Regions from separate parts of the Homo sapiens genome. Here all the other regions are linked to region 1. Evidence: promoter capture Hi-C in 16 types of primary human blood cells and fetal thymus (Javierre and others, 2016). All regions are on one chromosome and are shown on one strand. Each heading gives the region's core, a stretch centred on a gene start or on the middle of the fragment in contact. The rest is flanking DNA. Distances are from core to core; before and after follow the strand shown.

Region 1 (3,697 bases), core at 215-2,714:
GCTCAAAATCTCCGATCACACCACTGCATTCCAGCCCGGGCAACAGAATGACACCCTGTCTCTAAATAAATAAATAAATAAATGTTAATTGTGTAGCTATTATGTGCCAGGCACAATGTGGAAGGAAGGGGATACATTAGTGAATAAAACAGATCCTTCCTGCATGGTACTTAGTTTCTAAATGGAGACACACCATCAACAAGCAACCATAAATACGTTCTTGCAAACTGAGAGAAGTGCTATGAGGAAAATGTACAGGATGCAGGGGTGGAGGATGAGGAGGTCGGCTACCTTAGATGCCGTGGTCACAGAATGGCTCTCTGTAGGAGATTTTGAGCTAAGATATGTTAAAAGTTTAGTCATCCAAAGATCACTAAGATTAGTCTATAGTCTGACAACTTAGTAACTATTGACTTATGGCAGGGCAGAATGGGTGAGGGGAGGGAGGAGTCGTTGGGTTAGGTTCCTCTTGAAGGGCTCTAATAAGACCCTGATAGACCGACCAGGTTACAGTCCGATGGTCATAATCCAGATGAGAGATATCAATCTTTAACTGGGGTCCCGAGCATATGGGGTAGAAATAACAAGGGTTGTTGATGGATTAGATGTGGGATTTGAAGTTTAGGTCTACCAAATCCCTGGGACCCTTGCAGTCAGCTCTTTCTTGGGGAATGGGAAGTGGGTTCCAGCAACCTGAATTCAAGTGCATGACGAAACCAGAAAAAGCAAACGCCAAAATCAAAACTCGGAGCCTCAGAATACCTGCCAATAGATGCATATGCCCCAGCTTTCCGTGGAGGGCAGTTTACCAGAGCCCAGTGCAATTCCTAATTTCCATAAAGAACCCACATACAAATAAAGTCTGTCTAGTTCACTATGGTTAAGGTAGTCAGGAAGTGTGCCACATTTTACAAAATTTTCCACCCAAAATGTTTTTTTTTAATGGTGCTTAAAGGAAAAATTCTCATTTACCTGGAAAACTTAACTCCCCAAAGGGAAGTTTCGTTCAGATAGCTAAAGCATGCCAATCCCAGTCCCCAAGGGAACTGCAACAACGTCTCACCGGGCGCACTGCCTTCAGCAGTCACTTTCGAGTTTGTTGCCAGGTGTCCGAGCGGGTTTGAACGTCCGCGTCAATCCACACAGTACAAACCGGAGGAGGGGCCGGGACCACGCTTCCCCTCCAGGACTGCCTTTTGTACGTGTGTTTTGTTTCTGTTGCTAAGGTTTAGGGAGCTGCCCGGCTACCCTCACGGATTCCCATGGAAACTACCACCTCCCAGAGGACAGGAGGAGAGGCGAATTCAGGGTCCACCCACGGGCCCCGCCCAGGGATGGGGTCACTGAGGGTCCGGGCAGCGAAGGGCGGGGCCCGGGAGCTGGGCATGGGCGAGGCAGGCGCGAGAGGAGAGGGGCGTGGCAGGTCCGGGGCGGGGCCTGAGTGCGCCTGCGCAGTCCGCGCCACTCAGGGAGCCGGAGGGGACGCGCCGGAGGAAAGATGGAAGACTACCAGGCTGCGGAGGAGGTAACCGCCGGGTCGGCGACGGAAGGGTGGAGGCCTAGAGCCCTGGCCGCGGAAGGACACGCGGTCCTGCCCGGAAAGGCCTGGCTGCCCACCTCCTTCAGCTAGGCCAGTCTCGGCAGCCCACGGCCTGAGCTTCCCGGTCGCCGGCGCTCCGCCCGGCCCCATTCTGCCCGGACATTGCCGCCGTTTCCCCGGCGCGGGGGGCGGGAAGGGGATTGAGCTTCTTCCCGCGCGGGGAGGCACCGGGCGTGACTCGGAGAGAGCGCCCCGGTGAGCGGTGCCGAGAAACCTTCCCGCAGGGCCTCGCCTCCGGCCCGCAGCCAAGCTCGCCGAGAGGATGACATCACCGCCCCTTGCTCTGCGGGGCTGACCCCAGCCCCAGCCCCAGCCTGGAGCGGGGCGCGGCGGCCGGGCTGGGAGCGCCGAGGCTTGGACGTCTCCCCGCGGAGGTGCGGGTGACGCTCCCGCCGCCAGCCCCTCCGCCCCGGGCTGGCGTCCCGGCCATCCCGCGCCTTTGTCTCGGGCCTCACCTGGTTCTGCAACGCTGGGAATGAGTAGCACATTTCATTTCCGTTTAATATGTCTGTAAGAAAGCTCATTGTTGTGGGGAAAAAATCATCTTTTATGCCTCCTTGAGGAAGTAGGATAAAGCCCACGATGTCGCCAAGCAGAAGACACCCATCGGCACCGTGTGCGTTAAATGGCTTTCCTTCAAGCTCACGGTCATTCGGGGAATAGAGCTGATGGGCGCAGCTGAGATACAACACTCATTTTCTTCTTACTGAATAATCCTTGTTGAAATTCAGATAGAGCCCTATGGATTTATTATGCAGCCTGTCAAAAATATAAACTATAGATACATTTGGTAAGGTTGGATATCTTACCATTTATGAAATTTAGTGGCTGGGCGCAGTGGCTCACGCCTGTAATCCCAGCACTTTGGGAGGCCTAGGCGGGCGGATCACCTGAGGTCAGGAGTTCGAGAGCAGCCTGACCAACATGGAGAAACCCCGTCTCTTTTAAAAATACAAAATTAGCCGGGCGTGGTGGCGCATGCCTGTAATCCCAGCTATTCGGGAGGCCGAGGCAGGAGAATCCCTTGAACCTGGGAGGCAGAGGTTGCCGTGAGCCAAGATCGCGCCATTGCACTCCAGCCTGGGCAACAAGAGCGAAACTCCGTCTCAAAAACCAAAAAAAAAGAAAAAAATTTCGTTTAAGGAGGAATGTTTTCAGGGAAAATAAAACTAAAACTTAAGGACTGATTCTAGAGTTTCAGTTTTGATCTGATTTCCTAACTAGCACACACTTCCTGTGACAGTGGCATAATCAGTGTTTGAATGCTGATGGCAACCAAGTGAATAATGACGAGAAGAGCTGGTTCAGGAGCAGTTGGCAAAGAAAAAAGCCTTTCCCCTTAAACTGTTACTAATATAATATTGGAAAATGTCTTGTATTACAGTAATATCGAGTAAAACTTCTAAAAAAGAAATCGCTTTGTAAAGGAAAGCGCTTAATACTGCAGTCCGATTCTGACTCCCACAAATAAGGTGGCTAAGTGGCTTCATTATTCGAGATCTCAATCGCATATGTGTAAAATGAAGGGGCTGGACAGAGTGATGAGTGTTCTACCTGGGATGGAGGCCCTGGGAGGTGGAGACCATGGCTGTCTTGTAGTAGGCATGTCTTAGGTATTTACTGAATGGCCCGTTCTGGTCCTCCCACCAGCCTCTTAGCAGCCTTTTCTGCATCTCTTCTAACTTCGTGTAGATGCCTGGGCCTTTGTAACTATTCTCTCAACTCACCATTCATCTTTCTTGGAGACGTTAAAACTATCCACTGGATTCAATACAACTCTGCTTTCCACTAAAAATTCTTTAAAATGTCCCTCAACCTTTTTCGTACTGTAACCATATGGGAGGTGATACAGTGCCTTTCCTTTGTGATTAAGGTCACGGTAGTCACTTGGAAGGATCCTTTAAGCTTCCAGAAATGACTTAATCTCTAAGATATTGCAAATTGTTCTTCACTCAGTGAGTTGGTTTTGTTTCCAAGTCCGACTTCTGAGTACAGCAAGTGAGGTGGCTTCGGGCAGTCAGCTCCTGAACCCCCTAAAAAGAAAGGGCAGGGCCTGCAGTGGACAGCAGCCAGACAGGGAGGAAGACTCACTGCCAA
Region 2 (3,645 bases), core at 844-3,343, 1.1 Mb before region 1:
CACAATAAAAATGCTATAGATTTTTCAAATAAAATATGAACATAATATGAACATAAAAGGCAACTTCAATGTGCACTTAGAAAAGATTAAATTCTATTAACTACATCTTCAAAGGCAGAAAATATTTACAGCAATATATTTTAGTCAGATGGAACATCTTGTTATACACAATACACAATGAAGTTTACTATTGTGGAGATACTGAAAAGTTTTTCTGTGTTAAGCTTAGTAACTACAAGAAGCAAAATATTTAGAGGCAGAAAAGTTGGAGACAACTAAAAAAATTAAAAACAAGAATAAAACCAAAATACTATCTTCAGTCTTCTTTTGCTGAAGGACCTACTAACTAACGTACAATTTTGAGGAGCAAGAAGCAAATACATAATGATCAAAACTGCTAAACAATATATTCAAGGGGATTCAATACTACATACAAGACCATAAGAGACCTTGAACGCTTTAATGTACTGTACAAATTGTGACAATGCTCATCTCCACATCACAGGGCTTTTTACACATTGTGTTTCATCTCTACCAGCTTATTTCTGACAAACAATACACAAAAATATTTTCAGCAAACATGACTCAACGTTGAATTGGAAAAGCTAGACATAAAAGAGCCATGTAAAAATAAGCAGTGCCTGGGACACACTATTATTATTACTTTTATCCTTTAGGAGTTAGCAATTCTGGTAGCTTGTCCAAATTCTGCCAATGAAAAAGTACTAAAAATACTGAACTTTTAAACCATGTGTCTGCTTAAGATACCTTAACATATAAAAGCACTGTAAGAAACACACCTACCCAAACCCTTAAAATGTAACCTCAACCTTATCACAAGCCAGCTTTGCGGACTGCAATCTTTCCCCGACTTGGCTAATCAGATGCTACTTGAATGAATTAAAATGTATCCATCTTGAAAAGATTTTTCGCTCATAGTTTTAAATTACGGTTTTAAATGTCCACAACATGTTTATCTATCGTAGAAAACTTAATGGTCAAAATTTTAAAATCCAAAAAACGAGAACTTGCGATGGATCTATGACGTCCACTTATCTTCCGAAGCAATGGAATTAACTAAAACTAGATAAAATAGGCACAAATACAACTTCCAATTGTAACATACTCATAGAAGTATTTCCCTACCAGACTAAATAATAGTTTTTTTGTTTTGTTTTGTTTTTTTTACATAATCACAGTTATGCTAGTCCTTGATAATGTTAAGCTAATCCTTTGGGATCAAACAACCAAGTGACTTTCTTATCAAAACAAGAACTCGGGCTTTTCCATTACGTGTACACAGACTTATGAAAAACGGTGAAAAAAAAATCTAGTAACTGTCTCACAGGGATCCAAGGTAAGACTTGGATTTCACAAAAATCTGCAATAATTCAGTTTCTTTCCTCAGAATGCTTATACTCATTTAAAAATGGAAGTCTACAAGAGAACGTAGTAACATCCTACTGCGTGACATGAAATGTAGGGAACGAATGTTTCTTTTTTTCCTTGCTGAACTCGTTAGTGCCGCCAGGTCCTCAGGAGAGGCCCAAGGGAGGTGAAGGGGGCGACCCCGAGGCGAGGAAAAAACGAGCGCCGCCGCTCAGCCCGGGGAGGGCATCCTCCGGCCTCCGTGAGTGGCCGGTCTCTCCGGCCGCCAGAGCACCCCTCTCAACCCGGGCCTTGGGGACGGAGGACAGAGATAAAATGGCCTCGAAGCGGCGGAAGTGTTCCCCGCAGGCGGGAAGGTAGAGCGGCTCACGAGAGACCGGTGCCGCACCAGGCCCGTGTGGCCTTTCGGGCCCTGCCCGCCCCTTACCCGCCGGGGGCGGCTGCGCATCAGCCCTCAGGCCCCGGAGGTCCCCCGCGTCCGCTCCCGCCAGCCGGCCCGCGCCTACCTCTCCAGGCAGAAGCCGCGCCGGCGCCACCGGTCGCATAGGCCGAGGCCGCGCTGCTTGCCCTGCCGCCCGGGCCCCCCGGGCCACCGCGCAGCCGGACAGCTCTGCCGCCGGCCCCGCCGCGCTCCTAGTCCCGCCGCAACCCCTGCGCTCCCCTTTATTTGTGGGTCTCGCTGCCACAAAATGGCGCTGAGGGAGGAAACCAGGCCCCGCCGCCCGGCCCCGCCCCGCCGCACGGCTCCGCTCCGCCCTGCCCCGCCCCACAGCCGGTCCGAACGCGCCGCAGGCCAGCGCCACTGCCTCCCGCCTCCCGCCTCCCGCCTCCCGCCAGCCTCCCCGCTCCGCCATGTTCGCCTTCTGGCCCACTCACAGGAGAGTCGCCTTTCAGGCGTGGCCGCAGTCACTCGCCCGCCGCCGAACCCCGCCAGGAGAGGAAAGGTGAAGGGAGGGAGGCCGTCGGCCTAGCCCGATCGGGGCCTCGAGGCACAATGGAGCAGCTGCTCCCCGGTAACACTCCCCGTCCTTTCCCAGGAGCCTGGCGCGAGCTCCGCGGGCCCCGGAGCTCAGCAAGCTCAGTAAGGGAAGCGGCCGAGGGGAGGGGCGGGCCAGCGAGGTCGGAGGTCAGCCCCAGGGCATCACGGGAAGGGAAGGTGGAAGTACTCGCCGGGGCCACCTGCGGCTGCGGGGCTGCCTCGTGCGGAGGGATCTGGGCGAAGGCGGCGCGTGATTGGCCGCTCTGTGTTCGTGACGCTCATCCGTGATGCTTCCGCGTGTCGGAGGACCAGGTGCCACCTCAAGAGAGAGGCCGTGGGCGGCGAGCCGCGGGCGTTTACTCTTAGCAGAAGCTCACCTGTAAGTTTTGAGAACTTAGAAACCGATGCCTTCCCTCTCATCAGTCGTGAGGCGCAGTCTCCTGGCCGCTGGGTTCGTTCCTCCTTGACATCTCTGGAGACGCATCGAGGAGCTATTGTTCTCTGGCGTCGGAGGTTGCGCTGTGTCCGCGGCGTTGAGGGCCCCTTGCTAACTGGAACACGGGGAAGGCGGCCCTGTGAGGTTTAGTGAACTCAATCAAAGAGGTCCTGCAAGTGGAGTAGACTCCCTGAAGTAAGACTGCCATCTGGACCGCCGAGTAATGGCGGTGTTACCTGGAGAACGTGAAACAGTCTCTAAACACTTACTAGAAGAGCACGTAATTCTTTTGATTGGTCTGTCCTTAGCCGGCTTTATCAAACCTGTTCATCCCCAAAGGAGTGTCTTGTAGTAAGGTGATTTATTAGGATAAGATTAAAGTACATTCCAGATGGTCGTAGTATATTTCCAGTGAATCAGATCGGTCTGGAGAAAATCTTTGCAACTCGTATCACAAGAGCTCTCAAAAATTGAAAACAAAAAGTGCAAAAGCCAAAGGAGAAAATGGGGAAGGACATGAACAGATGATTCTCAGAAAAAATACCGTAATGGTCTTTAAACATAGAAAGTCGCTCCACCTCACTTACAATGGAAATACACGTTGAAATTACCTTTCCTGGTGGGAGTGGAAAAATGGTTCAAGTTCCACGGAGTACAAAATTACTTGTGTTTATTCTTATACCTTGCAGTTATACTTCTAACCCTAACCTTATTCTGAAGGTGCAGCTCCACACATGGAAACAATAGGTATACAAGGTTATTGCAGTGCTATTTGTCATAGCAAAAGTTAGGGATAACCCAAATATCCGTTAATAGGGAACTGATTGGGAATGGTGCATCC
Region 3 (3,651 bases), core at 583-3,082, 1.3 Mb before region 1:
ACATGTTTGAAACTAAAGGATTCTAAATTTCTTTTCAGATTAAAGGCCAAGCCCCTAGAATGGCCTAAGCTAAAATCATTCTTAAAATTAACTTGATATTAAAGTTTAAAAGCACCATGATCACATTATAGAACTAGAAAATGGTTTCAGAAGCAATAAAATTATTACAGACTAAATAAAATGTAATGATATCTTTGAGGAATAATAAATTTTTTGTCTGAAAGTTTGTCTGTTAGAAAATTCTCTACCTGAAGTGAACATGTACAGCCAGAATTAGGAAACTATTCCAAACAGTATGGTTCATTTAACAGCCAAGCAAATGAAACCATTCAGCTGAGATTCCCAGAAAAAGCCTACATTCTAGACTAAGTTATCTGAGCTTACACAAGTAAAGACTTAAGAAAAAAGCCAACAGAAAAAAAAAAAAAGAGATCAATATATTCAATCAAAGAGAAAACTAAGCTGTAACAGTAAGATGTTAAATGTTAGCAACAAACAAGCTTCTGGAAGAAAGTATCTGCAAGCTGTGTGGAAACACCGTCTTCACTCAAACACACACAAAAGAATGTGTTGAATACATTTTCTGAAAGAAAGAACTTCAGGCCATGCGCAGTGGCACATGCCTGTAATCACAGCACTTTGGGAGGCCAAGGTGGGAGGATCACTTGAGGTCAGGAGTTCGAGACCAGCCTGGCCAACATGGTGAAACCCTGAATCTACTTAAAAAAAAAAAAAAAACACACACACACACACACACACACACACAAAAATTAGCCAGGCATGGTCGCGCACGCTTATAGTCCCAACTACTCGGGAGGCTGAGGCACGAGAATAGCTTGAATCCAGGAGGTGGAGGTTGCAGTGAGCCGAGATCGCACCACTGCACTCCAGACTGGGTGACAGAGTGAGACTCCATCTCAAAAAAAAAAAAAAAAAGTTCTGCAGCAGGATAGGTAAGAAAGCCCAGTGAGCATTTTCCTGAAACTCTGTCAAGTCTTCTAAAAGTCACTGACTCTATGCTGTATTCCATCTCAACTGAAGGAAACCAGCGGGACACAGGAGAGGAGCGGGGAGAACTGCAAAGGCCCCCACAGAAGCGGCTTGTCCACTGGAAACAACCCAGGATCCCTGTCCGTTGTCCCAGTTGTACAAAATTCAGTGACCATCCTCAAGGGAGGCAGCCTGATTTTAGTTAAAATCACTCTTCTGGATGCAAAACCATCTTTCCAAGAACGCTGGTTCTTCAAAACCATCACTCTGGGACAGAAAATGTTCTAGAAAATCAGCAAAAATAAGTAAAATCTTTGCTATTCTATGTCATTTTTCAGAGCGTAAAACAGTTAGCCAATGGTCCCTCTCTCATTCTCAAAAAATCCAAATGCACTCCAAAGGCCAGCCTGACAGCTGGAGAGACACACATGTGCTGCAGCAGCTCCTCCAGACAGTGCTCCCCGGCTGAATCCACAGCTCCAGCACTAGCTGCCATGGCACTTCATACAGCTCAGTGGTGGCATTTTCTGAAGTGTCTGTTATCCCCAATGACACCGTCACTCTGGGACAGTAATGTCTTCCCTCCTGGAGCAATGACTGGCAGATGCAGGATCAGCATCTCTACTGATGGCTTGAGAAGGAAACTGGCCAGTGGCTAAGAACGCATGACAGCACGGCTCTCACCCACACAGCTAACATGTGAGCCAAATCTCCCCACAGAACGTGATGCCATTATCCAACCCTCCCAAGTTCCTCAGCTTTGAAGCCAAATATCCCAAGGCTCAGAATGAGGAACTTGCCCAACATCACGGAATTATAAAGTGAAGAATTAACCTAGGCGGTGTGAGGCCCACGGGTGAGTCCTTAACCAATTAGGTAAACGGCTTCATTTATTTTCCATTTAAAGAAATGGTTTTAACTTTTCAGAAAACATTTAGTTTCAGTTACAACACAAAAACTGGCAAAACATTCCACAAAACTTTAGTTTAAATCTTGTCACAATAAATGCCATTAAAAGGACAGACTCTGTATGGCATAAAGATCTCTGAGTTCCTATTATATTGCCAACCATCTACACAACTTGATTCAATAAAATGCTAGTCATATAGAAAAATTACAGTTATCCCTTCGCAGCACCTTGTAATCACAGATACAAGACCCCCAGTAGAGGCCTGGAACCAGGAATACGGTTTCGGATATGGTTTTTCCTTTACATACATACCCATGATTAAGTTTAATTTATAAATTAGTTGTAAAAGATTAACAACTAATAATAAAATAGCACAATTATAACTGTAATAAAAGGTATGTGAATGTGGCATCTCTCTCTCAAAATATCTTCATATTTTCAGACTGCAAGTGACCATGGGTAACTGAAACCTCAGGAAGTGTAACTGCTGATGGGGGGACTGGTTTATAGTCACTCACTTAATGGCGATACGTCATCAGAAATGTGTCATGAGGCAATTCTGTCACTGCTCAAACATCATCGAGTGTATCTGCACACACATAGATGGTGTCGCCTACTACAAACCTAGGCTATATGGTATGTCCTATTGTTCCCAGGCTACAAACCCACACAGCATGACGCTGCACTGAATACCCCAGGCAACTGTAACATGTGACACATATCTAAACGTAGAAAAGGTGCAGCAAAGATATGGTATAAAGGATTAAAATGGCACACTTGCCTAGGGCACTTATAATGAATGGAGCCTGCAGGACTGGAAGCGGCTCTGGGTGAGTCAGTGAGTGAGTGGACCTAAAGGCCTAGGACCTGACTGGACGCTTTCATAAGACTGGTAGCGCAGTGGGTTCGTTTACAGCAGTATTACCACAAACATGTGACTAATGCATTGTGCTACGACATTACAATGGCTACAGCATCACTAGGTGATAAGAATTGTTCAGCTTCATCCTAATCTTCTAGGACCAAGGTCATTTATGCAGACTGTAGTTTATGCAGTCCGTCATTGGCCAAAACGCTTCTCTTCTCGTTTTTAATGTCATGGATACTACTTATATCGTAAAGGCAGAATTCTCAGAATGGTTGAACCCATCTGAGGACAGCCTCTATGAAAAAGCTGTGAACTGTCTGAAGATTCAGACCACATCACATCATGCTGATCAACAGATCATATGCTTTTCCTTGCTCAACTTCTTCCCCAAGCTTAAACTTCTGCTACTCTATACTCCCAGTCCAGTTCTGCTTTCTCTTCTGCACAGTGTGAATTGCCAAACACCAGAGCATTGCCTTCCACAACCTCTCTTCCCATACCCAACTGGTTTCCATGGAAATAATATCAAGTCCCTCAGCCGGCTCCTTCCCACTGGCTGCACTGTCCTTGCTATTTCTATGTAAGCAGCTTGTGAACTCTACAAACAAGGTCCACATCTATATTGTCTTCCTCAACTCAGATGCACACTCTCCTTTAATGAGACTACTCAGCTCAGCAGAGTCCAACAGTGACACAACTCAGAAACATTCTACAATCAAACCATCAGGCCCAGCAGGAAACGGGGAGCAGCAGAAGTCAAATACAAGGCAAATGACTTTAGAAGATCTCTGCTTTTAAAGCAAAGTCTGTGGCAGAAACATACCCTATTTTTTTAATTTAACAAGGGCAATTAATTTAACCATATAAACCAAGCACACAGTCG

What was found. Contacts are between HindIII fragments. The CHiCAGO score rates a contact against its expected background, and 5 or more counts as called.
Region 2: a contact is called between the fragment with the promoter of WTAP here and the fragment with the promoter of DYNLT1 in region 1, in 2 of 17 cell types (neutrophils and monocytes). The highest score is 9.0, in neutrophils.
Region 3: a contact is called between a fragment that was not itself captured here and the fragment with the promoter of DYNLT1 in region 1, in 1 of 17 cell types (neutrophils). The highest score is 5.4, in neutrophils.

What each region holds. Positions count from the first base shown.
Region 1 is chr6:158,642,510-158,646,206 of GRCh38, reverse strand. It overlaps DYNLT1 (dynein light chain Tctex-type 1), which reads left to right and starts at 1,464. Exons shown (of 5, transcript NM_006519.4): 1 at 1,464-1,525. The coding sequence starts at 1,499. It also overlaps a transcript of SYTL3 not described here. RefSeq lists silencers at 1,307-1,536, 1,697-2,026 and an enhancer at 1,150-2,093. The HindIII fragment of the contact is 7,871 bases long and covers 1-3,507 here.
Region 2 is chr6:159,725,954-159,729,598 of GRCh38, reverse strand. It overlaps WTAP (WT1 associated protein), which reads right to left and starts at 2,093. Exons shown (of 8, transcript NM_001270531.2): 1 at 1,896-2,093. It also overlaps a transcript of SOD2 not described here. RefSeq lists a silencer at 1,675-2,224 and enhancers at 1,687-2,284, 2,235-2,364, 2,715-2,804, 2,285-2,882. The HindIII fragment of the contact is 6,285 bases long and covers 227-3,645 here.
Region 3 is chr6:159,983,518-159,987,168 of GRCh38, reverse strand. The region is part of intron 1 of IGF2R (insulin like growth factor 2 receptor); the gene reads right to left. Among named protein-coding and RNA genes, the nearest start is that of IGF2R, 16 kb to the right of the region's middle. RefSeq lists a silencer at 2,378-2,672. The HindIII fragment of the contact is 2,660 bases long and covers 503-3,162 here.